Linked DNA regions of Homo sapiens: all the other regions are linked to region 3. Evidence: promoter capture Hi-C in human tissues and cell types (Jung and others, 2019). All regions are on one chromosome and are shown on one strand. Each heading gives the region's core, a stretch centred on a gene start or on the middle of the fragment in contact. The rest is flanking DNA. Distances are from core to core; before and after follow the strand shown.

Evidence for each region. The method cuts DNA at HindIII sites, captures the fragments that hold promoters and counts their contacts. A contact is called where the count stands out against the background at its distance.
Region 1: a contact is called between a fragment that was not itself captured here and the fragment with the promoter of CSE1L in region 3, in 1 of the 25 tissues and cell types used here (lymphoblastoid cells).
Region 2: a fragment that was not itself captured here is called in contact with the fragment with the promoter of CSE1L in region 3 in 1 of the 25 tissues and cell types used here (lymphoblastoid cells).
Region 4: a contact is called between a fragment that was not itself captured here and the fragment with the promoter of CSE1L in region 3, in 2 of the 25 tissues and cell types used here (hippocampus and mesendoderm cells).

What each region holds. Positions count from the first base shown.
Region 1 is chr20:48,662,390-48,668,945 of GRCh38, reverse strand. PREX1 (phosphatidylinositol-3,4,5-trisphosphate dependent Rac exchange factor 1) reads left to right here. Exons shown (of 40, transcript NM_020820.4): 15 at 2,591-2,663. Among named protein-coding and RNA genes, the nearest start is that of PREX1, 160 kb to the left of the region's middle. The HindIII fragment of the contact is 6,858 bases long and covers 1-6,556 here.
Region 2 is chr20:48,632,880-48,639,172 of GRCh38, reverse strand. PREX1 (phosphatidylinositol-3,4,5-trisphosphate dependent Rac exchange factor 1) reads left to right here. Exons shown (of 40, transcript NM_020820.4): 31 at 1,421-1,462; 32 at 2,490-2,710; 33 at 4,398-4,497. Among named protein-coding and RNA genes, the nearest start is that of PREX1, 190 kb to the left of the region's middle. RefSeq lists enhancers at 328-622, 2,996-3,135. The HindIII fragment of the contact is 9,523 bases long and covers 116-6,293 here.
Region 3 is chr20:49,044,865-49,050,858 of GRCh38, reverse strand. It overlaps CSE1L (chromosome segregation 1 like), which reads right to left and starts at 4,547. Exons shown (of 25, transcript NM_001316.4): 1 at 4,436-4,547. It overlaps CSE1L-DT (CSE1L divergent transcript), which reads left to right and starts at 4,803. Exons shown (of 2, transcript NR_110625.1): 1 at 4,803-4,999. RefSeq lists enhancers at 3,549-4,189, 4,155-4,224, 4,775-4,924. The HindIII fragment of the contact is 10,199 bases long and covers 1,524-5,994 here.
Region 4 is chr20:49,319,163-49,324,985 of GRCh38, reverse strand. No RefSeq gene overlaps it. Among named protein-coding and RNA genes, the nearest start is that of SNORD12, 41 kb to the right of the region's middle. RefSeq lists enhancers at 257-756, 757-1,258, 5,369-5,823. The HindIII fragment of the contact is 6,734 bases long and covers 1-5,726 here.

The sequences.
Region 1 (6,556 bases), core at 1,956-4,455, 380 kb after region 3:
GTGGGGAGGCTGGGACTGTGAGCGCCTCAGAAGGCCAGGTGGCTCCAGCTGCCTGCCGGGCCTCCCATCTGCAGAGCTAGGGCCTGCCGCCATTGGGCCCTGCTGGCCTCCCCACTGCCGGCCCCTCACGGCGTGGGGGAGGCTGCTCTGGATATGGCCTCTCATAGCCACCACCCCTGGCAGGGTTCCCAACCCGCAGGCCCTCCAGCTACTGGCTTGGGGTCCTGTGGGAGAAATGTGTCTTTATGGAGTCAGCCAGGGCAGGCAGTGTGGTGAAATGCCAAGGCCAGAGGCTCTGCCCCAGGCCTTCTGCCCAGGGCTGAGTCCTGCTGCCTCTGAATAGCACCCCTGTCTCCTCTGGTTGGAAAATCCCCTCTGGCTGTGGACGGGAGGGTACAGGCGGGGCCTCTCAGGGCTCCTCATTCTGGGAGGCGTTTCAGTGAGACTAGGTGGTGCCTGTGGCTTTCTCTTTGGAGTTCAAGCTCATTGACCTGGCTGCAAGCTCCTACACAATCTGGCCCCTGCTGACCACTCCTTTATTAAATCAGCAGACAGCTATTGAGCAGGGACTCTAGGTCAGCCCCGTTCCCAGCACTTAGGATTGAGCGGGGACACAGCAGTGCCGGCTCCTGGCCCCCACGGGCCTGACTCAGCTTGTCCTCCCCTGGTCGGCCGTGCTGCCTTCTGGTTCCTCTGCGCTCCAAGCTTCTGCCCATCTCCAGACCTTTGCCCCTGCTGTTTCCTCTGCTTGACAGTCCCTCCCACCTGCACATGCGCATGCACGCACACACACACACACGTGTCACACACTTGGCCGGGACGTATTGAGTGTATTTGGGTTGCAAGCAACAGAAACAGGCCCTGGCTAATTGAAGGGGGGATAACAAAGGATGACTCACTGAAGGGAGGTGGGGCACTCAGAAAGCCAGGGCAGGCCTAGGAGGCCTTAGGAAGAACTGGCACCGGGAAATGCTGAGAAGCTAGCAGGTGGAGGCTCTGTCCAGCACACCGCTGTGAGGGACAATCAGCGCTGCTTTTCCTTGTCCTTGGGGTCCTCCACTCAAGTGTCATGTTCTTGGGGCAGGGAGCATCCCTTTGGCCTCAGCCTGGCCTAGGAGGGCTGCAAACCTTGATCAACTGCCCCACCAAGATGACATCCCACCTGGGAGAGTTGGCCCCAAAGGCCAAACCCGCAGGGTCCAGCACACGGGCCGTGCCTGTTCATTCTTCACGTTTCGGGTTGGATGTCACTTCCTTCGGGAAGTCCTGAGATGAGTCAGATTGCCTTGGTTCAAATTGTATCAGTTTGGAATATTTTCATTTGCCAGGATAACAAGCCCAACTGAACAGTGGCTTACAGAGATGCCACCTATCAAGAAGCATGGAGCTAGGTGGTTCCAGGGCTGGTTTGTGGGCTCAGTAGCAGACAGAAGAATCTTCCATTCTTCACCCCACCATCCTGAGCATCACTTCCTCACATGACTTTATCCCAGGCAGGGAGGAGTGGTGCTGCTTTTCCCTTTTACCTGGGGGGGAAGATGTTTTTCAGAAGCCCCTGGTAGGCTTCCCCAGTCGTCTTATTAGCTGGTGCTTGGTCAGTTAGCAATTGAACTTGATTTCTAGTATTAGAGACACAATTATGGAAGCTGAGCCAAATTAGGGTTTGTGTTTCTGTAGCATGAGAGAAGTCCAGAGGTGGGTGGTTCAGAGCTGCTGGAGTGTCTCCTGATATCTTTGGGGACCACACTCTCTGTGTCTTTCTGCTCTGCCTTCCTTAGTGTGTTTCCAGCCATGAGGGCACCTTGTAGTCTAAAGTGACTGCAAGAGTTCCAGCCACCACATCTTTGTTCCAGGCGGGAGGAAGAGAAAGAAAGGGCCAGGGACAAGGGGTTTTTGCCAGAGCATCCCACCAGTGATTTCTGCTTATAGCTCATTGGCCACCTGTAGCTGCAAGGGAGGCTGGAGATGGATGAGGGCTTCTTGACCAGGGAGGAATGGGAAAGGTGTTGCTAGGCAACCAACATTGTCTGCCGCTTAAAATCTCCATTTTTTCTTTGCGGTATTGATCACAGTACAATAAAATAGTCTTGTTTGGAGTTTATTAATAATAATCACAAATGGGGCCAGGCGTGGTGGCTCATGCCTGTAATTCCAGCACTTTGGGAGGCCAAGACGGACGGATCACGAGGTCAGGAGATTGAGACCATCCTGGCTAACACAGTGAAACCCCGTCTCTACTAAAAATACAAAAAATTAGCCGGGCGTGGTGGCAGGTGCCTGTAGTCCCAGCTACTCGGGAGGCTGAGGCAGGAGAATGGCTTGAACCCAGGAGGTGGAGCTTGCAGTAAGCCGAGATCGTGCCACTGCACTCCAGCCTGGGCGATAGAGTGAGACTCTGTCTCAAAAAAATAATAATAATAATAAAAAATAATAATCACAAACCCGTTTTGGGGTTACTGCAGTAAACAAAACAGACAACCCCTGGCCCTCGTGGAGCCTACCTTCTTGGGTGGTTGTGGGCTTCTCGTTGGCCATGCATGGCCTCTCGGATGCTGCCACCTAACACCCTCCCCTTCTTGTTCCATTCCAGGGAGACTGCCAGACTCGGGAGGAGGCAGTGGCGCTCGGCGTGGGTCTGTGCAACAATGGCTTCATGCACCACGGTAACCACCCCCACCTGCAGCCCAGCCCCCGGGACCTTGCTCCCTGGAGCTGATGGTTTGGGGGAGTATGGGAGGACTGAAGCCAGGTCTGTGGCTCTCTAGACCCCCGGGGGTTTGGGGAGGCTCACGAATCCCACCTCCCTCCCCTTCCCGTTCTGAACCGATCGAGAAATGGCTTCTGGTGTCCACTGGGGACCAAAATGGCTGGAAGGACATGGGCTAGATTTGAAGTCCAACCCATGGGTTTCCTGTGCCCTTCTTCCTGGGGGGGATGTGGCCTTCCAGGGTAGGCAGCAAGGCCAGATGAGGCAGGCCTGGCCCGAAGGCCTCCGTGAGGAAGGAGGAGCTGTGCCCTGTGGGACAGTGGGCAGGTGGGTTGTGAATGTGAGAGGCAGGAAGCCCTTCCTGGGATGTCTGCCTCTTTCCCCGGCCTCCTCCCTCAGATAAGTGACTTTTCTTTCCATTGGGAGAGAGGCAGGTATTGGGGGGTGAGTTCTGAGATGTTCCTGAGGCAGGAAGATGGCAAGAAGGAGGACGAAGTGGCTCCATGGACACCGGTTTAAATTACAACAAAAGTTAGTGTTCAGTGTGCCTGGGCTCTTTCTAGACACTTCACATATATTTATTAGTTTAATACAGCAGCCCTTTGATGTGAGTATTAACATCAGCCCCATTTTATAGATGAGGGTATAGAAGCTCAGATAGTTAAGAAACTTTCTCAAGGTTACATGGCAAGTAGAAATCGGGATTAGAACGCAGGCCATCTGGAGCCAGGATTAGAACTCAGGCCGTCTGGAGTCGGGATTAGAATTCAGGCCATCTGGAGCCAGGATTAGAACTCAGGCCGTCTGGAGTCAGGATTAGAATTCAGGCCATCTGGGGCGGGATTAGAATTCAGGCCATCTGGAGCCAGGATTAGAACTCAGGCCGTCTGGAGTCGGGATTAGAATTCAGGCCGTCTGGAACCAGGATTAGAATTCAGGCCGTCTGGAGCCGGGATTAGAATTCAGGCCGTCTGGGGCGGGATTAGAATTCAGGCCATCTGGAGCCAGGATTATAATTCAGGCCGTCTGGGGCAGGATTAGAACTCAGGCCGTCTGGAGTTAGGATTATAATTCAGGCCGTCTGGGGCCGGGATTAGAATTCAGGCCGTCTGGGGTGGGATTAGAATTCAGGCCGTCTGGAGCCGGGATTAGAATTCAGGCCGTCTGGAGTCGGGATTAGAATTCAGGCCGTCTGGAGTCGGGATTAGAATTCAGGCCGTCTGGAGTCGGGATTAGAATTCAGGCCGTCTGGGGCGGGATTAGAATTCAGGCCGTCTGGAGTCAGGATTAGAATTCAGGCCGTCTGGAGTCGGGATTAGAATTCAGGCCGTCTGGGCCGGGATTAGAATTCAGGCCGTCTGGAGCCGGGATTAGAATTCAGGCCGTCTGGAGCCGGGATTAGAATTCAGGCCGTCTGGAGCCGGGATTAGAATTCAGGCCGTCTGGAGCCGGGATTAGAATTCAGGCCGTCTGGAGTCGGGATTAGAATTCAGGCCGTCTGGAGCTGGGATTAGAACCCAGATCGTGCGGGTTTAGAGGCTGCACACTCAACTACTGTGCTATGTAGCCTCTCCCCTTGAAGGTCCTGGGGGATCCCTGAGTTTCCTGTCCTTTCAACAGGACAGGTAAACCTTTAACCCCCGCCAAGGTGCCATTTTCCTGTTTCTAGAACATTCCTCAGAGCCTTTGCACTTGCAGTTTCCCTTGCCAGGGTGCCCTGCCTGCCTCATCCCTGCAGGTAACTCAGTGTTTCTGCTCAGTTGACCCCTCCCCAGTGAGGGCCTCCCCACAACCCCAGCTAAAATAGCTCCTCCCCGTCATCACTCTGCTCCTAGCTCGGATTCTCTCTCTTTTTTTTTTTTTTCAGACGGAGTCTTGCTCTGTCGCCCAGGCTGGAGTGCAGTGGCAGGATCTCGGCTCACTGCAAGCTCCACCTCCTGGGTTCACGCCATTCTCCTGCCTCAGCCTCCCGAGTAGCTGGGACCGCAGGCACCCGCCACCACACCCGGCTAATTTTTTGTATTTTTTAGTAGAGATGGCATTTCACCGTGTTAGCCAGGATGGTCTTGATCTCCTGACCTCGTGATCTGCCCGCCTTGGCTTCCCAAAGTGCTGGGATTACAGGCGTGAGCCACCGCGCCCGACCAGATTCTCTTTTTTTTAAGGGCCTGTTCTCTCCCTGTTAGGCAGATCCCATCACTCCTTTCTGTCTTTGTTCATTCTGACATCACGTGTGGTGTCTTTGGTGTTCCAGGCACCGTGCCAGGTTCTGGGAGCAGAGTGTGATGACCAGGACAGATAACAGTCCCGTGTGTGTGTGTGTGTGTGCGCGCACTCACACTTGTATGTGTGTGCACACATGTGCATGTGGTGTGTGCAGGGGAAGGAAACAGGGATGCCAGCGAGGAGGTGGTCATGATAGTCCAGGGGAAGGAGGATATGGCTGGGACCTGGTGGTTGCAAGGGGTTAGAAGTGGTCAGATTCAGAAAACCCTGAGCCACAAGAAGGCCTTTTGGCTGTTTCTCCTTTCTGATATTGGCTTTTTTAGTTCTAACTCAGAGATCTGCAAACTCCGTCACAGCTGCTTAACTCTTAACTCTTCCTTTGTAGCACAAAAGCAGCTATAGAGAGTATGTAAACAAATGGGCATGGTTGTGTGCCAATAAAACTTTATTTAGAAAAGCAGGTGGTGAGCCATAGTTTGTTTTTTGAGACGAAGTCTCACTCTTGTCACCCAGGCTGGAGTGCAATGGTGTGATCTCGGCTCACCACAACCTCCGCCTCCCAGGTTCAAGTGATTCTCCTGCCTCAGCCTCCTGAGTAGCTAGGATTACAGGCATGCGCCACCACACCCAGCCGGGCCATAGTTTGTTGAGCCCTGGTCGGCCTGCTGGATTTGCGGTTCCCTTGGCAGAGTGAGCCACGTGCTGGAGACCTGAGAGGCCTTTGGATCTATCCCCTGCCTTGTGGCCAGCAGGTCCCTGACTCAGCTGACTCCCAATAGGCCCATATGCCTCTCTGGGCCTCAGTTTCTCCAGTTTTCCATTGGAGGCCTTGCATTCCCCTCCTGTGCGCTCAGCATGCCCAGAGTTCTGTGGGAATAGGACTCACTCTTTAGCTTCCAGTTTCCCCAGCTGAGGTGGGCAGGTAAGGGCCAGTCTGGACAGCTGAGGGCATTTTCATGTGTCTACCTCATCTCACCAAAGTCCTTCATTCCCAGAAGCTGCTCTGTTTGCCTCGGGGCCCTCTGACAGCCCCGAGCCTCCCGCCAGTCAGCTGGGCACAACCTCTCATTTGTGGGTGAGGGTAATTAGGGGTCCTCCCCAGCTGCTATTCCGGGAAGGCTGCTGGCTGTGGACATTCTGCTGGGTGGTGACTCCCAGGCAATCCTGATGTCCTCAAGGGCTCTCAGGGAGAGAAATTGCAGGGCGTGACCCTGCTCCTCTGTTCCCTGCCACGAACTCAAAAATAGGCTAAAATAGGAAAGGGCCAATTCCAGGATTGTGGCTGCAGCAAAATACAGGGTGAGGTGCAGGATGGGCGATTGGGAGGGGCCTCTGTGGCACCTTTTGAGGCGCCTCGAACTGGGGCCAAACTGAGCCTGCAGACACTAAGGTATTCCCACCTTAGGGCTGACCAGGGGTCCGGCCCTCTTGCTTTAGGCACATATGGGGAAACTGAGGCTTGCCATTTAATCCCCACAGCCACCCCAGCATGTTGGTCCTGTTGTTATTCTTGTAGACAAGGAAACTGAGGCTCAGAGAGGCTAAAGGGCATGAAGTCAGGAAGGGGCTGAGCAGGGATTTGAACCCAGATCTGAGATTATCCTATAAAGCCGGACCAGCAGC
Region 2 (6,293 bases), core at 3,628-6,127, 410 kb after region 3:
AGTTCACCCCAGTCTCCACCACTCCCTGTGGCTTGGCGTCTGCTCCACGCATCTTACATCACCTGCCTGGCCCTTGCCGGCATTTGCGTCTGAGACTCCTGCGTTAGAAGGATCCGGACGAGGGAGATGTTTGACCAGGACAGTGGGAGATTAGAGGACTCTGGGCTGTTCCCTCGGGGAATGGCAGCCTCTGAGTCGGAGTCTCTGCTGCTTCTGATCTGTCCTGTTCTCCAAAAGTGTAACCAGTGAGGAGCATCGACTCTGGGTCCAGACCACCAGGGCTTGAATCCCAGCTCACCCACTTACTGGCTGTGTGATCATGGCGAGTTCCTTGACGCCTCTGGCCTTAGCTTCTTCCTGTGTCAAATGGGCCCACAGTGCTGCCTCCTTCCCGTGTGGTCAGGAGGATTAAATGAGTCAGCATAGGTCATGCGCTCAGTGCCCTGGCTGCCTGGCGTGGTGACTCCTGGCCTGGCTTCCTGGTGTGGTGAGTTCTGGCCTGGCTGCCTGGCGTGGTGAGTCCTGCCGTGGTGCCTGGCGTGGTGAGTCCTGACAAGAGCGCACCACTGCAGCTGCTCTCGTTCTTACCCTGCCCAGCCCTGAGTCCTGCAGTCCTCCCTGGGGAAGAAGGCACCTAATAAACCAAATCCAAAGCCCTTCCACATCTTTCTAAGCCCTTTTGTGGGCCGAGGAGCATCTTTTTTAAGGAAAGAGAACAGGATGTTGGGCCTGGAAGAATTGAGCTTTTTTTGCAGGACAGGGCGTGTGTAGGGCCATGCCCATGTAGGATGAGAATATGTATGTGAGGCTGTTAGGAGTGTGTGTCTTATGTGTGCACTCGTGTGTCTGTTGTGTGTCTGTGTGGATGTGTGTGTACCTGTGTGTGTACATATGTATGTGAGTCTGCAGATGAGTGCACGTGTGTGGTGTGCACTTGTGTGTCTGCTGTGTGCTTGTGTGGGCGCATGTGTACCTGCGTGTGTACATATGTGAGTCTACGTATGAGTATATGTGTGTGTCTCTGTGTGTGGCATGCACTTGGGTGTCTGTTGATGTGTGAGTGTGTGTGTGTATGGATACGTGTGTATCTAGGTTGTACGTGTGTGTGACCATACTTATGTGAACAAGGTGTGGGGCAGGGGCTGTGGCCCAGGGATTAAAGGGGCTGGTTCCATCTGTGTCCCAGGCTTGCACGTACAGATGGGGCTCACAGTTGGGGTTCCACTGCCTGAGGTCAGGGGTTCCTGGAGTTTACCTGACAATCAATAAAACCTCCTTGAGCACAGCCTTGGGTGCCAGGGCTTTGCTGTGAAGGGTCAGAGCACCTTGGGAGGTGCCATGGGGAGGGGCCCGGTTCTGCCCTCACCTCTTGCTGCCCCCTCCCAGCCCGTCCCCCTTTCTGTCTCCCTTCTCCTTCCAGATGGGAAGAACCAGCTGCTCCTGGCCTTGCTGAAGTGCACAGGTGAGGCCTTTAAAGGTGTGTGGGGGGCACATACCCGGCCTCTTCCACCACCCAAGGCCGACCATCCATGCCCTCGGGGCCTGGACGGGGGGAGGCAACGCTTTGGCCTGGAGCCCCTCCAAGAGCTACTTGAAACTTGCTTCTTCCTCTTGTGTCCAAGGGACAAGTCTCAGGGCACTGGAGCCAGGAGCCCTGTCCTGTGCCACTGCCCAGGCCTGGGTGGATGTTGACGGGGCCCCGGGATAGAGGACGATGTTAGGGGGCCTTGTGCCGGTAGAGCCTTCAGCCCCAGCCTGGGGGCTTCCACCCAGCAGAGAGTGGGGAAGAGGAAGGGGGAGGAGGTAGCGGGAGAATCTTGGAGACCTTCTCTATCCCTGCCTTCTTTCTAGAAATTAGCCAAGGGGGTGCTACTGCAGGATCTGGGTCAAATTTGGTCACTAAAAAACTCACTGGCCAGAAGCCGGCCATTGGAAATAATTCCTTCCAGAAGATTGGGACCCTGAGAGACCAATTGCTTGAAACTGGCCAGTTCTTCAGACCATGCCAAGGTCAAGGACAGGGGCAAGGGCAGAGGTGGGGGAAGGAAGAAAGCATAGTTCTCCAAAATAGAGAAAATGCTAAACTGCATTTCTGAACATGTGCAGCTTGGCAGAAGAGCTTAGCACCATTGGCATTCTACTGGCCAAGGCCAAGGAATCCCATAATGAGAGGAGAAATGGCTGAGGGTGAGGGTCTTGGGAAACCCTTAGGAAAATCACAAGATGTTTGTTTGTTTGTTTGGTTTTCAAAGCAGGCAGATGAGTCACTGAGAGAACAGTTTTGGCAAATGGGCTTGCTTTTCGTAGAATTGATTTTTGTGGAATTGGCTTTTGGTGGCTGGGATGTCCACCAAAAAGTAATTTCTGGCCTGATGTTAGCCCTTTGCTGGGGGTTCCATGAGGGGTCCTGGACCCAGGGTTTTGGGGGGTGGGCCTCCTGGTGGCACGGGAGCGCCCCTCCAGCAAGGCCTCCTGCCCTCTGCCCCCAGACACGGAGCTGCAGCTGCGCAGAGACGCGATCTTCTGCCAGGCCCTGGTGGCCGCCGTGTGCACCTTCTCCAAGCAGCTGCTGGCGGCCCTGGGCTACCGCTACAACAACAATGGCGAGTACGAGGAGAGCAGCCGCGACGCCAGCCGCAAGTGGCTGGAGCAGGTGGCGGCCACGGGCGTCCTGCTGCACTGCCAGTCCCTGCTCTCGCCAGCCACAGTGGTGAGTGAGTGGGGCGGGAGGGCGGCCCCGCTGGCCCACCCACTGGTGCCCGCCCAGGCCGGGTCGAGGGAGCCCTTGCCCACTTACTCAGGCTCCCCCTGGCCTCGTCATTCCCGCAGCAGCTATTTGTTGAGCACCTGTGTGCTGTTTTATAGGCACTGAAGGTCCAGCAGTGAACAAAACAGAGTCCCTGTACCCAGGGATCTTCTGTCCCAGTGGGAGGGAGGGAGGCACACACACACAGATAACAGAATCCATGCTACAGACCAGCGGCTCTCAGCCCAGGGCAGTTTCCCCACTAGGGGACACTTGGTAATGTCTGGAGATGTTTTTGGTTGTGACAACTGAGGGCCTGAGGTGGGAGTGGGGTGGTGGAAGCCAGGGATGCTGCTGGACATCCGGCCAGGACCTGAGAGTCACCAGTGCCTCTGAGGTTGGCTCCTGGAGCCCCTGCTGCTGGCTGGTGGGGAGGCCTGGCCTTGGAGCGCCCTCTGCTGGCTGCTGCTGCACAAGACGCCTGCCTGGCACAGATTGGCCATCACTTGATTCTCAGAATGCACAACCTGGGGCCCAGGGAGGAAGCAGGGAACACTCAGCCCTCCCCTTCCTCTTCTCACATGGGGATGCTGGGCCAAGTTCCTTCATTCTCCAAACACCACGATGTGCCAGGCCCTGAGCTGGGAGCTGGGGGCCTGAAGCTGACTTCCTAGTTGGGGGAAGCAGCTTGAGAAGAAGAAAGGACAGAGGAGGGAAGGAAGGTGGGGAGAAGGCAATCTCTACAGGAAGCTTGGCGGGCACTGCAGCTTCTCTGTCAGAGACAGCCTGTGTGAGGTGGTGACGCTTGAGCTGAGACCTCAGCCAGCCAGGCAGACAGTGTGAGGAAGAGTGTGCGGGGTAGAGGGACCAGCATGTACAAAGGCCCCGAAGAGTGGCTGGTGTGACCAGAGGGGAGCGGCAGGGGCTAGGGAGATGTGGGGACCAGTTCTGTAGGGCCTGAGACTTTAATCTGGAAGCAGTGGAGGGTTCAGAGGCTTGGAGCTGGGTGAGTGATATAATTTGGGTTAAGTTTTCAAAACATGACTTGTAGGATGTATTGTTTGGGGGCAGAGAGTGGCAGAAGGGAAACCTGGTGTCATCTTGACAAGAGATGGTGGACCCTTGAACCTGGGTGGTGGCCAGGAAGCTGGAGGGAGATGGGTGGGTCTGGAGGATGTTTTAGTGTCACCCCATCAGACTTGGTGATGGACCAGGCCCAGGGTGAGCGGGAGAGAAACTGAGAAGTCAAAGGTTTGGATCTTGGATGACCGAATGAACGCTGGTGCTATTTGCTGACATGGGACCGACTGGGGGAGGTTGAGGAAGGAATTGGGGACTTTTATTTGAGTGTGTTAGGCTCAAAAAGGTTAAGTTAGAAGCCTGGTTGGTGATCCAGGCAAGAGAGGCAGTGACTTTACTAGGATCACTCAGTGAATTAAGGCAGAGATGGGTTCTATGACCCTTGAAAGTGCAGGACAAGCCACAGAGCACACCATGATTTCACATCCACTCTGGAGAGTCACGCTCAGGACCTGGCACCCAGGGGGCCCACAGTGTGGAGTGCCGACTAGAGTTGAATTCAGCATCTTGATAGGAAACCCTGGGGCAGGGTTGGCATCTGAGACTCCTCCGCGCTGTCTTCTTCCTGCAGAAGGAGGAACGGACCATGCTGGAGGACATCTGGGTGACGCTGTCAGAGCTGGACAATGTCACCTTCTCCTTTAAGCAGCTGGACGAGAACTATGTGGCCAGTGAGTGATTTCTCCCATCCCCCACTGTGAGAGGTGGGGTCCTGGGGTGGAAGGGACAGCTCTCTGGGGTCACCCTGTCCTTCCCCTGCCTCTGGGCCAGCTGCCCAAGGTGGGCTCAGTACTCAGTGCTGTCAAACCTCATGCCTCCAACATGAGTGTGAGAGCCGAACTTTGGGGCACACATGGAAAAAGAGGGGTTTCTTTTTGTATGAACCCGGCTATTTCCAACAGCTCTTAAAAGAGAATGACACTGGTACCCAATTCTTAATAAAATTATTCCCTAGAGATGTGAAAACTTAAGATTTTTAAAGGGCTTAAATAAGTACCATAATTAAGTTCCATCCTCCCTTCCTCCCTTGCTCGTGTCCTCACCTCTCCTTCCTCCACGCTTTCTCCCCTTTCTCCCTTTTTCTTTCTGTCTTTCTCTCTGTGTCTATTTTCCACCCATCCTTCCACCTGCCCACCCATTTATTTATCCATCCATCCATCCATCCATCCATGCATCCATCCATCCATCCATCCATCCATCCACCCACCCATGTGTCCATGCATCCATCCATCCAGGCATCCATGCATCCATCCATCCATCCGTCCATCCATCCATCCATCCCACTCATCCATCCATCCATGCATCCATTCATCCATCGATCCATCCAAACATCTGTCCATCCATCCATCCATCCATCCAACCATCATCCATCCGTCCATCCATCCATCTATTTACATGTCCATAATTTTGAGCACATAGTATATGTCAGGCTGCGTTTTGGGCCATGTAACATGGTCCTCATTCCTACCCTCCTGGAGCTCATAGTCTAGACCAGTGCGTCTCAGCCCTGCTTGCACTCTGGAATCATTGAGGGAACTTTGCAACGATCCCAGGGCCCTGGGCCCTAGCGATTCTGATCGGTTTGTGGGGTGGGGTCTGGGTGCTGGGTAGTCTGGATGTGCAGCCAGGGCTGGGAACTTCTGGGCTTGCTTCTGAAAGCAGGGGTTCTCAGAGCGTGGCCCCTGGACCAGCAGCACCTGGGGGCTTGATAGAAAGGCATATTCTCCGGCCCAGCCAGAACTACGGCCTCAGAAACTCTGGAGGTGGAGTCCAGAGGCCTGTATGCTGAAAGCCCTCCAGGGGCTTCTGAGGCATGTGGGTTTAATTAGGAACCAGGCACTGGATTAGTGTTTCTCAGTTTTTTCATTTCATTAGATTTTATTTAATTTCATAAAAAACCTTTTTAGTCAATTTTTCCTAATTGCTGCACCCCCATGAAATTATACTACTACGGGTATACCCTGTGTCTGTTTATCTGTGCATCTGTGCTTATTATACATTAAAAGAGGAAAGTGTTTTCATTCTCCTTCCCACGAGCCAGTTTTCACCTCCTTGGGGACAGTGTCTCTCCTGCTGAAAATGCATGGACTAGAGTCTAGATGAAGGGCAGGTTCTCTTTGAGTAGCAATTGGAATTGATAGGCAGCAGCAGCTGCCTGTCTCCAGGCTGAGATTGGCTCGGGCAGAGCTTTGATCGATGAGTGATGTCTGCCATGGGTGCAGGATGGGGTCTGGGTGCCATATTTTGCACCCCCTGCCCTAAGCGCTTCCTTCTGGCTATGAATCAGATGTATACCCTGTTTGAGGGCAGCTTTTCCCAGGCAGGGGCCATGGGCTACCGGGTGAGGGTACAAGGAGCGCTGGGGAAGCTCTGACCCCAAATGCTGTGGACCCCCTAAGTAGGCAGAGTCCGCATCAGGTTCAAGAATTAAGCAGCGGAACTAGGAGCTGATGAAGCAGGCGAAAGG
Region 3 (5,994 bases), core at 3,298-5,797:
TGAGCAAGGTGGCTCACTTCTGTAATCCCAGCACTTTGGGAGGTGGAGATGGGACGATCACTTGACCCCAAGGACCGTTCAAGACCAGACTTGGCAACAATAGTGAGATCCTGTCTCTACAAAAAATTTTAAAAATTAGCTGGGCTCAGGCCGGGCGCGGTGGCTTACGTCTGTAATCCCAGCACTTTGGGAGGCCGAAGCAGGCGGATCATCTGAGGTCAGGAGTTCGAGACCAGCCTGACCAATGTGATGAAACCCCGTCTCTACTAAAAATACAAAAAAAAAAAAATTAGCCGGGCGTGGTGGCATGCGCCTGTAATCCCAGCTACTCAGGAGGCTGAGACAGGAGAATTGCTTGAACCCGGGAGGCAGAGGTTTCAATGAGCCAAGACTGCACCATTGCACTCTAGCTCTAGCCTGGGCAACAAAAGTGAAACTCCCATCTCAAAAAAAAAAAAAAAAAAAAAAAAAAATTAGCTGGGCTTGGTGATACCCTCCTGTGGTCCTAGCTACTAGGGAAGTTGAGGCAGGAGGATTGCTTGAGCCCGGGAGGTCTAGGCTGCAATAAGCTGAGGTCTTGCCACTGCAGTCCAGTATGGGTGACTGAGTGAAACCCTGTCTCCAAAAATAAAATAAAATAAAATAAAATAAAATAAAAATAAATAAATAAAACCACATAATAGAATGAAACCTAAAATGATTAAGTTGAGATGCTAGGGTAGGACTATTTTTAAGTTTAAAAAAAAGTGAGGGGTTATATAAATATGCATGTTATAATCCCTCAAAGTTAAAATACTACATAGATCCCAGAATCTTAATACTCTTTTTTGAGACAGGGTCTGGGTCTGTTACCTAGGCTGGAGAAATGCAGTGGTGTAATTCTGGCCCACTGAAACCTCTGCCTCCTGGGCTCAAGCCATCCTCCTACTTCAACCTCCCAAGTAGCTGGGACTACAGGCACACACCACCACACCTGGCTAATTTTTGTGTTGTTTCTGTAGACATGGTTCCAGTGTTGCCCAGGCTGGTCTGGAACTCCTGAGCTCAAGTGATCCGCCCACCTTGGCCTTCCAAAGTTTATTCTTTGGGAATATTCTTTAAGGAACTATTTGTCAACAAATCCTTTTTATATCGCCTTGCAGATATAGTCTATAAAACCGAATTCTAAGCTTATCCTTAATTTGAGAAAATAAGAGAAATCAGGGACTTTTAGAGAACATTTTACAGGTATTCATAATTATCAACAAGATCAAGCTCTAATTATCTTATGCAACCACAAGTAAAGGTACTTTGACACTCTGAAATATTAGCAATATATAAATGCAAAAAGTGTTACTGATCTAAAAATGACTCAAACTAGAAACAAAACATTCATTTTGGCCAAGTAGGGTGGCTCATGCCTGTAATCCCAGCTCTTTGGGGGGCCAAGGTAAGCAGATTGGTTGAGTCCAGGAGTTTGAGACCAACCTGGGCAACATGGTGCCATCTCTACAAAAAAAAAATAAAAATTAGTTGAGTGTGGTGGTGCACGCCTGTAGTCCTAGCTACTCGGGAGGCTGAGGTAGGAGGATAGACTGAGCCCAGGTCAGCCCAGGCAACACAGTGAGATGGTGTCTCCAAAAAAAAAAGGGAGGGAGAAGATAAGAATTCATTTTTATCACCTTTAAATGAGGGGGTGATACTTTTCTTTCTCCACGTAACTATCTTTGGAAATCTCTACCAATACACAATTAAGAAACTTAAAAAAGCATCACAATAAATCAGTTATGGCAGACATCTAAATTTCCAAGTTCTTCTTGTTGAATGAATGGCCAGACCTAAGTCTAGCATCTTCCCACAGGCCCTCAATTACAGGTGGAGATTTCTGGAATAAAAGCTTTGTTTTCCAAAGCCATCTCACAGACATCTGTGACATAAGCTGATCCAAGATGTCTGCCTTTTTCTTAGATATGTCCTCAACACATTAGAGAACCATTCCCGAGGCCTTACATTTGGGAAGAGGGAAAGAGATCCAATGAATGAAAACTATCTGGCACCCACACATGAAGAACATATCCCAACACCTCAACCTACCCTCTGCTTTCTAACCATAGGAATATACCACTTAGAATCAAATCCAAACTCCTTACATTGCCTACAAAGCCTTCTATGATCCGGGTCCTGGATATTTCTCCCTTCTTCATGTAACACTCTAGGAACCTAAGATATTCCTTAAATATTTCAATATTCCAAGCCGGTTCCTGTCCTTGAGCCTTGAGCCTTCTATTCCCTCTACCTGGAATGTTCTGCCCCTCACCTTTTAATGGCTGGTCTCTACCCAAATGTCACCTCCTCAGAAAAGCCTTCTTCACCTGTCACATAATTCTGTCACTATCTGAAATTATCTAATGTTTTTTCTTTCGCCCACGAGAATACATGGTCCTCAAGGGAAGGGACCTTGTCCATTTTTGTTTTTTCACTATATTCCCAGAGATTAAGTGGATGCTCAATAAAGTTATTAAATGAATAAAGAAACAAATTAATTCCAAAACTAGAGCACTGCTCTTGCATCCATCCAATCCTGTCCCAGACCCCAACCAGCAGAAGTAATCAGAAGGGGAGAGAGACTTCCCTTGCACTGATGGTAAGAAGTGAAAGATAAAGGGTTGTAGGAGCGGAGAGACGAGGTCCATTAGGATCCTCTGAAAGCATGTCAAAAAAAAAAAAAAAAAAGAGAGAGACACACACAGAGAAAGGCCAAAGATATGACTATGTGGGCCCAAGGTGAGAAAAAGAGCAATTGGTGGAATCCAAGACTAAAGGGTCCCCTTCTGTGCCTCCAAGGAAGAATAATACTTGTGCATCTACCATGTGGCAAGCACAGGTGGGATGGCACCCACCAGGGAGAGAGAAGTAAGCAAGACAGACAAGGTCCTTGCTCTCAAACAGCTTACATTCTAGCAGTTGAGAAAGATAACAAGTAAGCAATAAGTAAGTGTTAGTAAATGCTATGAAGTAACTAAAACCAGGTGATGTTGATGGAGAGCCATGGGAGAAAGGTCCTAGACAGGTTGATTAGACAGCCTGATCAACATGGTGAAACCCCGTCTCTAATAAAAATACAAAAATTAGCCGGGTGTGGTGGCGTGTAGTCTCAGACCTGTAGTCTCAGCTATTCGGGAGGCTGAGGCAGGAGAATCGCTTGAATCCGGGAGGCGGAGGTTGCAGTGAGTCGAGATCGCGCCACTGCACTCCAGCCTGGGAGGCAGAGCGAGACTCTCTCTCTCAAAAAAAAAAAAAAAAAAAAAAAAAAAAGAAAAGAGAAAAGAAAAAGAAAAAGAAAACAAAAGAAGAGGTTGGTTAGGGGAGGCCTAAGGTGAGGGAAACTTGGGAGAGGCGGCCTGCCTTGCAAAAATGTTGGTACTTCCCCAGCAAACAAAAGGCATGTGCAAATAATTTTAAATCGGAATAACCCTGGAATATGGAAGAAACAGAAAGCCACACTGGCTAAGGAGAAAGATGGGTGGGAGAGATGAATAAACAACCGTCAGCTCCCAGGGAACCTTTGTAAACCACGGTAAATAACTCAGCGCATCCTCAAAGCCACTTTCCGAGGTAGATTCTGTTATTAACCCCATTTTGCAGCTAAGGAAATGGAGGCTCAGTGAGATGAGGTGACCAGCCTCAAGTTACACCCCTAACGAGAGGCTACGTCTGGAATGAACCCAGGCGATCTAATTCCAAAGTCTATGCTCCGAACCACCACAGCACAGCGTTTCTCCCAAAACGAGGGAACCCTCCCCCAACCCGCGTTACAGGGGATTTCTATGTCCCGGGTGTACCGACTAGAATTCTCACAAACAATTCAGCAAAGTGAGATCACGATGCCCGTTTTACAGTCAGGGATACAAGTACAGAGGTTAGAGAAGGGTGAGTTCGGGGGCTTCACTAGAGTTAGGGCAAGGGACGACGCGAGGCAGCCGCAGCTCCACGCGCCCGCAGTCCCCGCCCGGGCAGGCCTCGCCGCCGCACACTCAGCTCGCGCGGCTAGCAGCCACCGTCGCAGAGAATGGACATGCGAGCGCGACCAATAAGGAGCGGCCTTCCCGAGCGGAGAGGCGGCGGCGCAGCCAATCAGCGCCGTGATGGAGAGGAAAGGGCGGGCAATCCGCAGGCTCGCGTTAGGCCGCGCCTCAGTTGCCCTCAGCCCTCACAGGCCCTGGGGTCGCCGCACCTGGGCCAGAGACCTAGGATGCCGCGAGGCGCGGCAAGCGCTCCCTAGGGAAGCCGAAGACCTTGCCTGAGCGCACCACCCGAACCCCGGGCCCACATTCCGCTCTCGCCCAGAGGCGCGGTTCTCACTCCCTAGCGCTCGTTAGTACCGGGAGCGCCTCATCCCTTCCTCAGCTGGGCCCCAAGAGCCACTCTGGTAGGCCGTGCACGCCCCGCGCCTCACCTCGTGGGGATACAGAAACGGAGGAGGGAACCCCAGCCGCGGACCGTAGCTGGCACTACCCGCTCCTGCCGCCGCTCCGCCTCACATTCAAACCCCGGCAAAATGGCGCGACAGCGAGCCTGAGGCCAGAGCGCATGAGCGAGCGGCCCGCTGCAGGGGGCGGGGCCAGGAATGCTCTGGCCCCACCCAAGTTCGAAGGGCCAATCGGGGCCCCGCTCTGTTTCTGCGCTGATCTCACAAGTGACAATGCTCTTTGGCTCTGACCATGCCAGCAGGCTTCACGGTTCTCGTTTTCCAAAGAGGAACACAGATTCAGCGAGCGGCTGCTGGCTTCTGACCCATTTTGATGTCAGGGCTTGGCACGTAGGAGGTGTTCAATGTTGATCGATCCAAGGTCGTGCACATAGGGTCTAAGACGGAAGAGAACTTCCTGCCCCTCTTGGAGCTTCTATTTTAGAGGGAGACACGGCCAGACAGGTCTCGAACTCCTGGCCTCAAGTGATCCGCACACCTTGGCCTCCCAAAATGCTGGGATTCCAGGCGTGAGCCACCGCGCCTGGCCTGGTATGTAAGTTTTGGTACTCTTATTACAGCCCACAAACCATATGGGATCTGGCCCCTGCCAGCCTGCCTGCCCTCATCACCTTCCGCTTCCCTCCTCTCCTCACCCTCACTCAGCTCCGCCACCCCACCTTCTTCCTGTTCCTCTAAGCTCCAAGCTTATTTCCACTTTAGAGCATTTATACTTGCTGTTCCCTGTGCTGGGATGTTCTAGATTCCTGAATGATTGGCTCCTTCTTTACATTTAGGTTCCAGCTCAAATGTCACCTCCACAAAAGAGGCCTATCTGAAATTGCCCACTCACCACCACCCAGCACACAAATTAGGGTTGCCAGGTTTAGCAAATAAAATGCAGGCTGCCCAGGTCAATGTAAATTTTAGAAAAAAATTTATAATTTTCTAGTATAAATACTGTGTAGGACATATTTATACTTAAAAATCATGCATTGCTTATCTGAAATTCACATTGAACTGGGTGCCCAGTGTTTGATCTGGTAAGCCTAGTTCCATGATATCATTATGGTATTTATCACTCTCCAACTAATTGTCTCTTCTTTATTTTGTTCCTCCTTCCGCTTCTCCCCTCCTAAACCCCTGCCCTCCTCCCCATCCATAACCTAAGGGATTCTATACAGCAAGGGCTTTTCTTTTTTTTTTTTTTTTTTAAAGACAGAGTCTTGCTCTGTCGCCCAGGCTGGAGGGCTGGAGTGCAGTGGTGCTGTCACAGCTCACTGCAACCTCTGCCTCCCAGGTTCAAGCAATTTTCCTGACTCAGCCCCCCAAGTTACTGGGACTACAGGTGCCCGCCACCATGCCCCGCTGATTTTTGTATTTTTAGTAGACACGGGGTTTCACCATATTGGCCAGGCTGATCTTGAACTCCTGACCTTGTGATCCGCCAGCCTTGGCCTCCCAAAGTGCTGGGATTACAGGCATGAGCCACCACGCCTGGCCAGGGCTTTTTTTTTTTTTTTTTTTTTCTTTTAAGAGGCAGGGTC
Region 4 (5,823 bases), core at 1,110-3,609, 280 kb before region 3:
AAACAATAACATGCAACCATGTAATTTCAACTAGTGATCTGTGCTTTGAGAAAAAACAGCAGGTCAAGAGTGGCCAGGGTTGAGAGAGAGGCAGGGAAAAAAAGAAAGAGTGCCAAGGGTGGTGTAACAAGAAACTATTTTAGGCAGGAGTCAAGGAAGTCCTCCAAGACAAGGACATCTGAACAGAGCCCCCAAGAAAGTGATGAAGGGAACTGTGTAGGAAGGGAACTGTATTCCAGGCACAAAACAGGCAGTGCAAAGTCGCTGAGGCAGGGTAAAGGTAGGATATCAGAGGGACAGTGAGGAGGCCAGTGTCGCTGCAGGAAAATAAGCCAGAGGAAAAGTGGTAGGAGGTGACATCAGAGAGGGAGGGGACAAAGATAGCATATAGGGCCTTGAGGACTGTTGTAAGGAGTTCAGATTTTATTCTAGGCATGACGAAAAGCCATTGCCGAGTTCTGAGCAGAGATGTGACGTGGTGATACCAAAGGTTTCAAAAGGATGACTGCCCATCTCTCTGGGTGGGGGTGAGGGCAGAAGCATGATGGCTCCTGCGGTTTCCCAGGAGAGAAAGGATTATCTACAGTAGAAGAAGCTGCTAGAAGAATGAGTTTTGTGTCACTGAAAGTGTTCACAATGTGGCTAAAAAACCTGGCAGGAAGACTGCAGACCAGATTCAGGCACTGGCTGGACAGCTGGACCAAGGGGTATCCCCAAAGTCCACCACGATCTCCTGCCCTGCCTGCCAGGCAGGTGAGAGATTTTGCGGAAAATTAGGCAGGCACCACCCTGCACGTGTTCTACCCGTCTCACTGGCAGCACGCACACAAGAGGGAACCATCATCACCCCTCGCATAGGCCCAGGATCACAAACTCAGTACATCTGTGGTTATTCTCGTAGTGTCTGCCTCCTCCATTAGAGTGTCAGCTCCACAACAATAGGGTCCTCATTTGTCATGTTCCCTGCTGTATCCCATCACCAAGCACAGGGCCTGGCACACAGCAACTCAGGAAGTGATGTGCCACTGAACAATGAGTGAGCAAATCTTGCCTTAGCAACAACAAAGGAAATATAACCACAGGCTGACATTGCAAAAAGGCAACACCAGATAGCAGTGTTTCTCAAAGCAAAGCCCAGCCCACTTTTCCTGACCAAAGAAGAAATTCTAGCTTCCCAGCCTTACAGAAAGGGGTAGGGCGGTGGTAAGGCTGCTCACTGAGTCCTGGATACCCAGATGACATCGTGCCAGCTGAGCCTGCCATGGCCAGACCACATTTCCCACAGACCCCTTAGAATCGCTTCACCCCACCCTTACAGGCCCAGGCTCATGAAGGAACACCTTTTTTTTTTTTTTTTTTTTTTTTTAAGATGGAGTCTCTCTCTGTCGCCCAGGCTGGAGTGCAGTGGCACCATCTCGGCTCCCTGCAACCTCCGCCTCCCAGGTTCAAACGATCCTCCTGCCTCAGCCTCCGGAGTAGCTGGGACTATAGGCACGTGCCACCACACCCAGCTAATTTTTGTATTTTTAGTAGAGACAGGGTTTCACTATGTTGGCCAGGCTGGTCTCAAACTCCTGACCTTGTGATCCACCCACCTCAGCCTCTCAAAATGCTGGCATGAGCCACGGGGCCCAGCCAAGGAATGTCTTTCTGCATTATCCAAACCCCGCTTTCTCCTCTGAACCACACTGCCCAGCCTCCTTACCATCTGCCCTCCTTATTGTCTACCAAAAGGATTTTCTAGAATACAGTTCTGGCCTGTTCCCTGAAATCCCTCAGTGGTTCCCATCTCCTATTGAGGGGGTTCACGAAGGATCTTTTTTGACAGTGGATCATAGATGGAGACCCCCAAGCTCAGTGGCTAAAAATCTACATTTTCCTGCAACTCATCCACAGTCATTTACCGTGCCCTCCTCCTATTCAACATCTCAGCACACTTTACCCAAAGTTTCCCAAAGCACGTGGTCTCCCACAGCTGAGTAGTACCCTCCCAGCCTCCTTTCCCCCATCTTCTGGGAATACCACCTCAGTTTTCTTCTGAGAAACCAAAACTCCCCACTCTCAATCCACATGGTTTGGACAGGGCTGATCGCACCCTCTCGTTCCTGGTATGAGGCAGGTGACCCCCACATGGCCAGTTGATATATTCCTTCTCCCTGGGTTCAGTGATTGATTGGGTCAGCAATGACCATTTAATCCAAACTGAGCCCATGAGAACCAGCCCTGGGATTTTGGCTGGAACTGGGGAAAAATGCTCTCAATCCATTAAGGATGGCAGTTTACAGCTACTGTCTTTGACCACTAGCTTTGCTACCACTTGGTGACAGCATGCCTGTAAATGAAGTTAACACAAGAAAAGCCGAAGAATGGAAAGAGATAGAGTCCTGATGACATCCTTGGAGCCCCTGGATCCAGTCATGCCTGAAGCTCTGGAATCCCTGGGTTGTTCTTTAGTTACCTAAGCCAATAAATATCCTTGTTAACTTAAGTTAAATTGTGTCACAACCCTAAGAGTACTAAGTCTACAGGAAACACATAAGTGTATATGTAGGGACATCAACCATACAGGGTTGAGATGATATTTAAGAAGTATAGAATACATGGAAACATTCTGTAAATAACTTGGAAAATACAGTGGTGTCTATCTTTCAAGGCCTTACTAATCACTCCAGCCCCACTCTCTCCCTGCCTCCACACCATCCTCACCAATCATTTCCAAGCTTCACCTTGCTCAGACTGAAATTATTTATTCCTTTCCCAACTACCTTGTCTCCCAAAAATAGACAATAAGCTTGAGGGGTACCAGAACTCCAGCCTTGCTTCCATCCCCCAGTGCTTCTAGCTGAATTGGGCACACAGAAGGTGGCCACCAATTGTAATTGAGGCTGGGTGTGGAGGCTCACACTGGTAATTCCAGCACTTTGGGAGGCCAAGGCTGGAGGATAGCTTGAGCCCAGGAGTTTGAGACCAGCCTGGAAAAGATGGTAAAACTCCATCTCTACAAAAAATACAAAAAAAAAAAAAAAAAAAAAAAAAAAAAGCTGGGTGTGGTGGCCCACACCTGTAGTCCCAGCTACTCAGGAGACTGAGGTAGGAGGATCACTTGAGCCTGGGAGGCAGAGGTTGCAGTGAGCCATGATTGCACCACTGCACTCCAGCCTGGGTGACACAGTGAAACCCTGAAAAATAAAAAGAAAGGAAGGAAGAAAGAGAGAGAGAAAAAGAAAAGAAAAGAGAGAAGGAAGGAAAGAAAGAAAAAGAAAAAAAAAGAAAATTTTAATTGAACTAAATGGGGAAGATGTCAAGGGGTCTCCTTACACCTGTAGACTCAAGCTTCCCTCTCCTAACATTCTTGAGTCTCTGCCACCCTTGAGCTGCTATACAATATTGAGATCTGGAGTCAGACTGCTGGAGTGCAAATCCCAGATCTGCTGTTTAAGAGCTGTGCAACCCAGAACACGTCACTTAACCTCTCTGTGCCTTAGTTCCTCATCTGTAAAACAGACATGATAACACTGTTCCATAGCGTTATTATGAGGCTTAAATGAGACAATTTACTTCAAGCACTTAAAATAGTACCTTCCTGACATTTGGTATTTCATAAATATTAGATTTGTTGTTTGCGGATTTTGTTTGTTTTTTAAGTCATCTTCAACATCTCCCTCTATTACAATTGATCACTTAAGGCAGTTGACTTTATCTCCTAAAAATAGCCCATGAAAAAAGCAAATACTTCTCTACATCTTTTGCCTCCTAACTAGTCCCCTCCTGCCTGCTCCCCTGGGAGGTGGAAAGTGAACTTTTCCCTGCGTCTCTTCACAAGACCCTGCTCCAGATAAGGAGGCAGATCCCAAAAGAGCAAAACAAAGGTGAAAGCAAAGCTTTGAGGCTCCTGGTTCCTCCAGCCCCCACTCCGTATAGAAAGGACATCTCTTGGGAGGGGCTAACATTGTGTGATTCTGTGGGTGTCGGTCAGACCATGAGAAAGTATCACTGATGCCTTTGCCTGGACCCATCCTGGGCCCCCACTCCTGCGCTGTGGCAGGGGAGCCCCTGTTGGTGGTGCTAACCTGGGACTTCAGCTCCAATCAGTACAGACCCGCGGCTGCATGAACTCTCTACACAGAAAACCAACCAGTACAAAAGCACCCCCAGGCAGTCCTTCCCCAAATTTAATCTGGAAGGAGTTCTCTTTTGCCTATGGCTTGAGAAGACACCACATCCAAAATTACTTTCTCATCTCACTGCTGCCTGAATTTCCAACGTTGGCCACTCCTGGCAGCAAGGAGCTAGAAGACTCAGAATCAGACCCAGCTCCTCCACTGGCTGGGAATTCTTGACTGCCCAAAGCCCTCTCCTCTCTGAGCCTTGCTTTTCTTGACTGCTAAACAGGGATGTTATTCCATACCTGAACCCCAGAGGGCAGGGAGAATGTATTCAGGTTCCAGGGGACATCCAGCCCAGCTTCTGGGCACAGAGGGATAGGTGATTAATGGATGTTAGGTCCCTTACATTTTTATTTATTTATTTATTTATTTATTTATTTTTGAGACATGATCTCGCTCTGTCACCCAGGCTGGAGTGCAGTGGCATAATCATAGCTCACTGCAGGCTCAACCTCCTGGGCTCAAGTGATTCTCCCACCTCAGTCTCCTGAGTAGCTGGTGCTACAGGCAGTCATCACCATTTGAGGCTAATTTTTTTTTAATTTTTTGTAGAGACTGGGTCTTCCAATATTGCCCAGGCTGGTCTCGAACTCCTGGCCTCAAATGATCCTCCCACAGCCTCCCCAAGTGTTGGGATTACAAGCATGAGCCACTGTGCCCGACCCATTATGCATTTTTTTAAAAGCGCCCTCTCTGTCTTTTAAAACAAATTTCTGAAGGAAGCTCTAGTGATATCACACGGTAGAGGGGCCCAATCAATCACTTTCCTCCCTGACATAGGAAAGTTGGGTCATAACCGTTTTACAGGGTGACAGAATTTAGATTTTTTTTTTGTCTCCAGTGGGTGTGAAAACTTTACTTCTGGGATTTAAAAAGGATAGAGAGCCAGACATGGTGGTGCGTGCCTGTCATCCAGCTACTTGGGAGGCTGAGGCAGAAGAATCGCTTGAGCCCAGGAGTTCGAGGCTGCAGTGAATGATGATCGCACCACGGCACTCCAGCCTGGGCGACAGAGCAAGGCTCCATCTCTAGAAGAAGGGAGTGGGGTGGCGGGGGGGGAGGGGATAGGCAGCGTCCTTCCCACTAATGACTCAACTAAAATAGCCCTTAATAGAGCGCTGTGGGTACCACTCTGGAGGAGCCTTTACCAGGAATGCTTGGACTAGCCCGGTGGCCACGCCCAGCACGCGGACCACAGATGGACTTCACCTGCGTATCTGTCAGGCCCCTCGGCTTCTGGACCCGCCTGCCTGAGTTCTAACCAGCTTGGACACACTAGTTTTGGAATCACTCAGACCGTTCCGCCTCCGCTTTGAGCGTCTTTCCATCCTTGCTCTCCAAGCGTTAGCCCTTTTCTTGGTTTCTCCATGCTCCTTGTCACCTTCTCCATTCGCCTTGTGACCCCTCCGCCCGAAAGAAGCTTGCAACCCCTCCTCCCTCGCAGCTCTCTTGGCCCCGCGCCCGTCCCCAGCTGGGGCTCTCAGATAAAATACAGGACTCCGAGTTAGATTTCAATTTCAGAAAAACAACAAATAATTTTTTAGTATAAGTATATCCCATGCGATATTTAGGACATATTTTTCTCTAGAAAGATTTGTTTATCTGAAATTCGAGTTTAACTGGGTGTGCTGTATTTTGATTTGCGAAATCTGGCGCC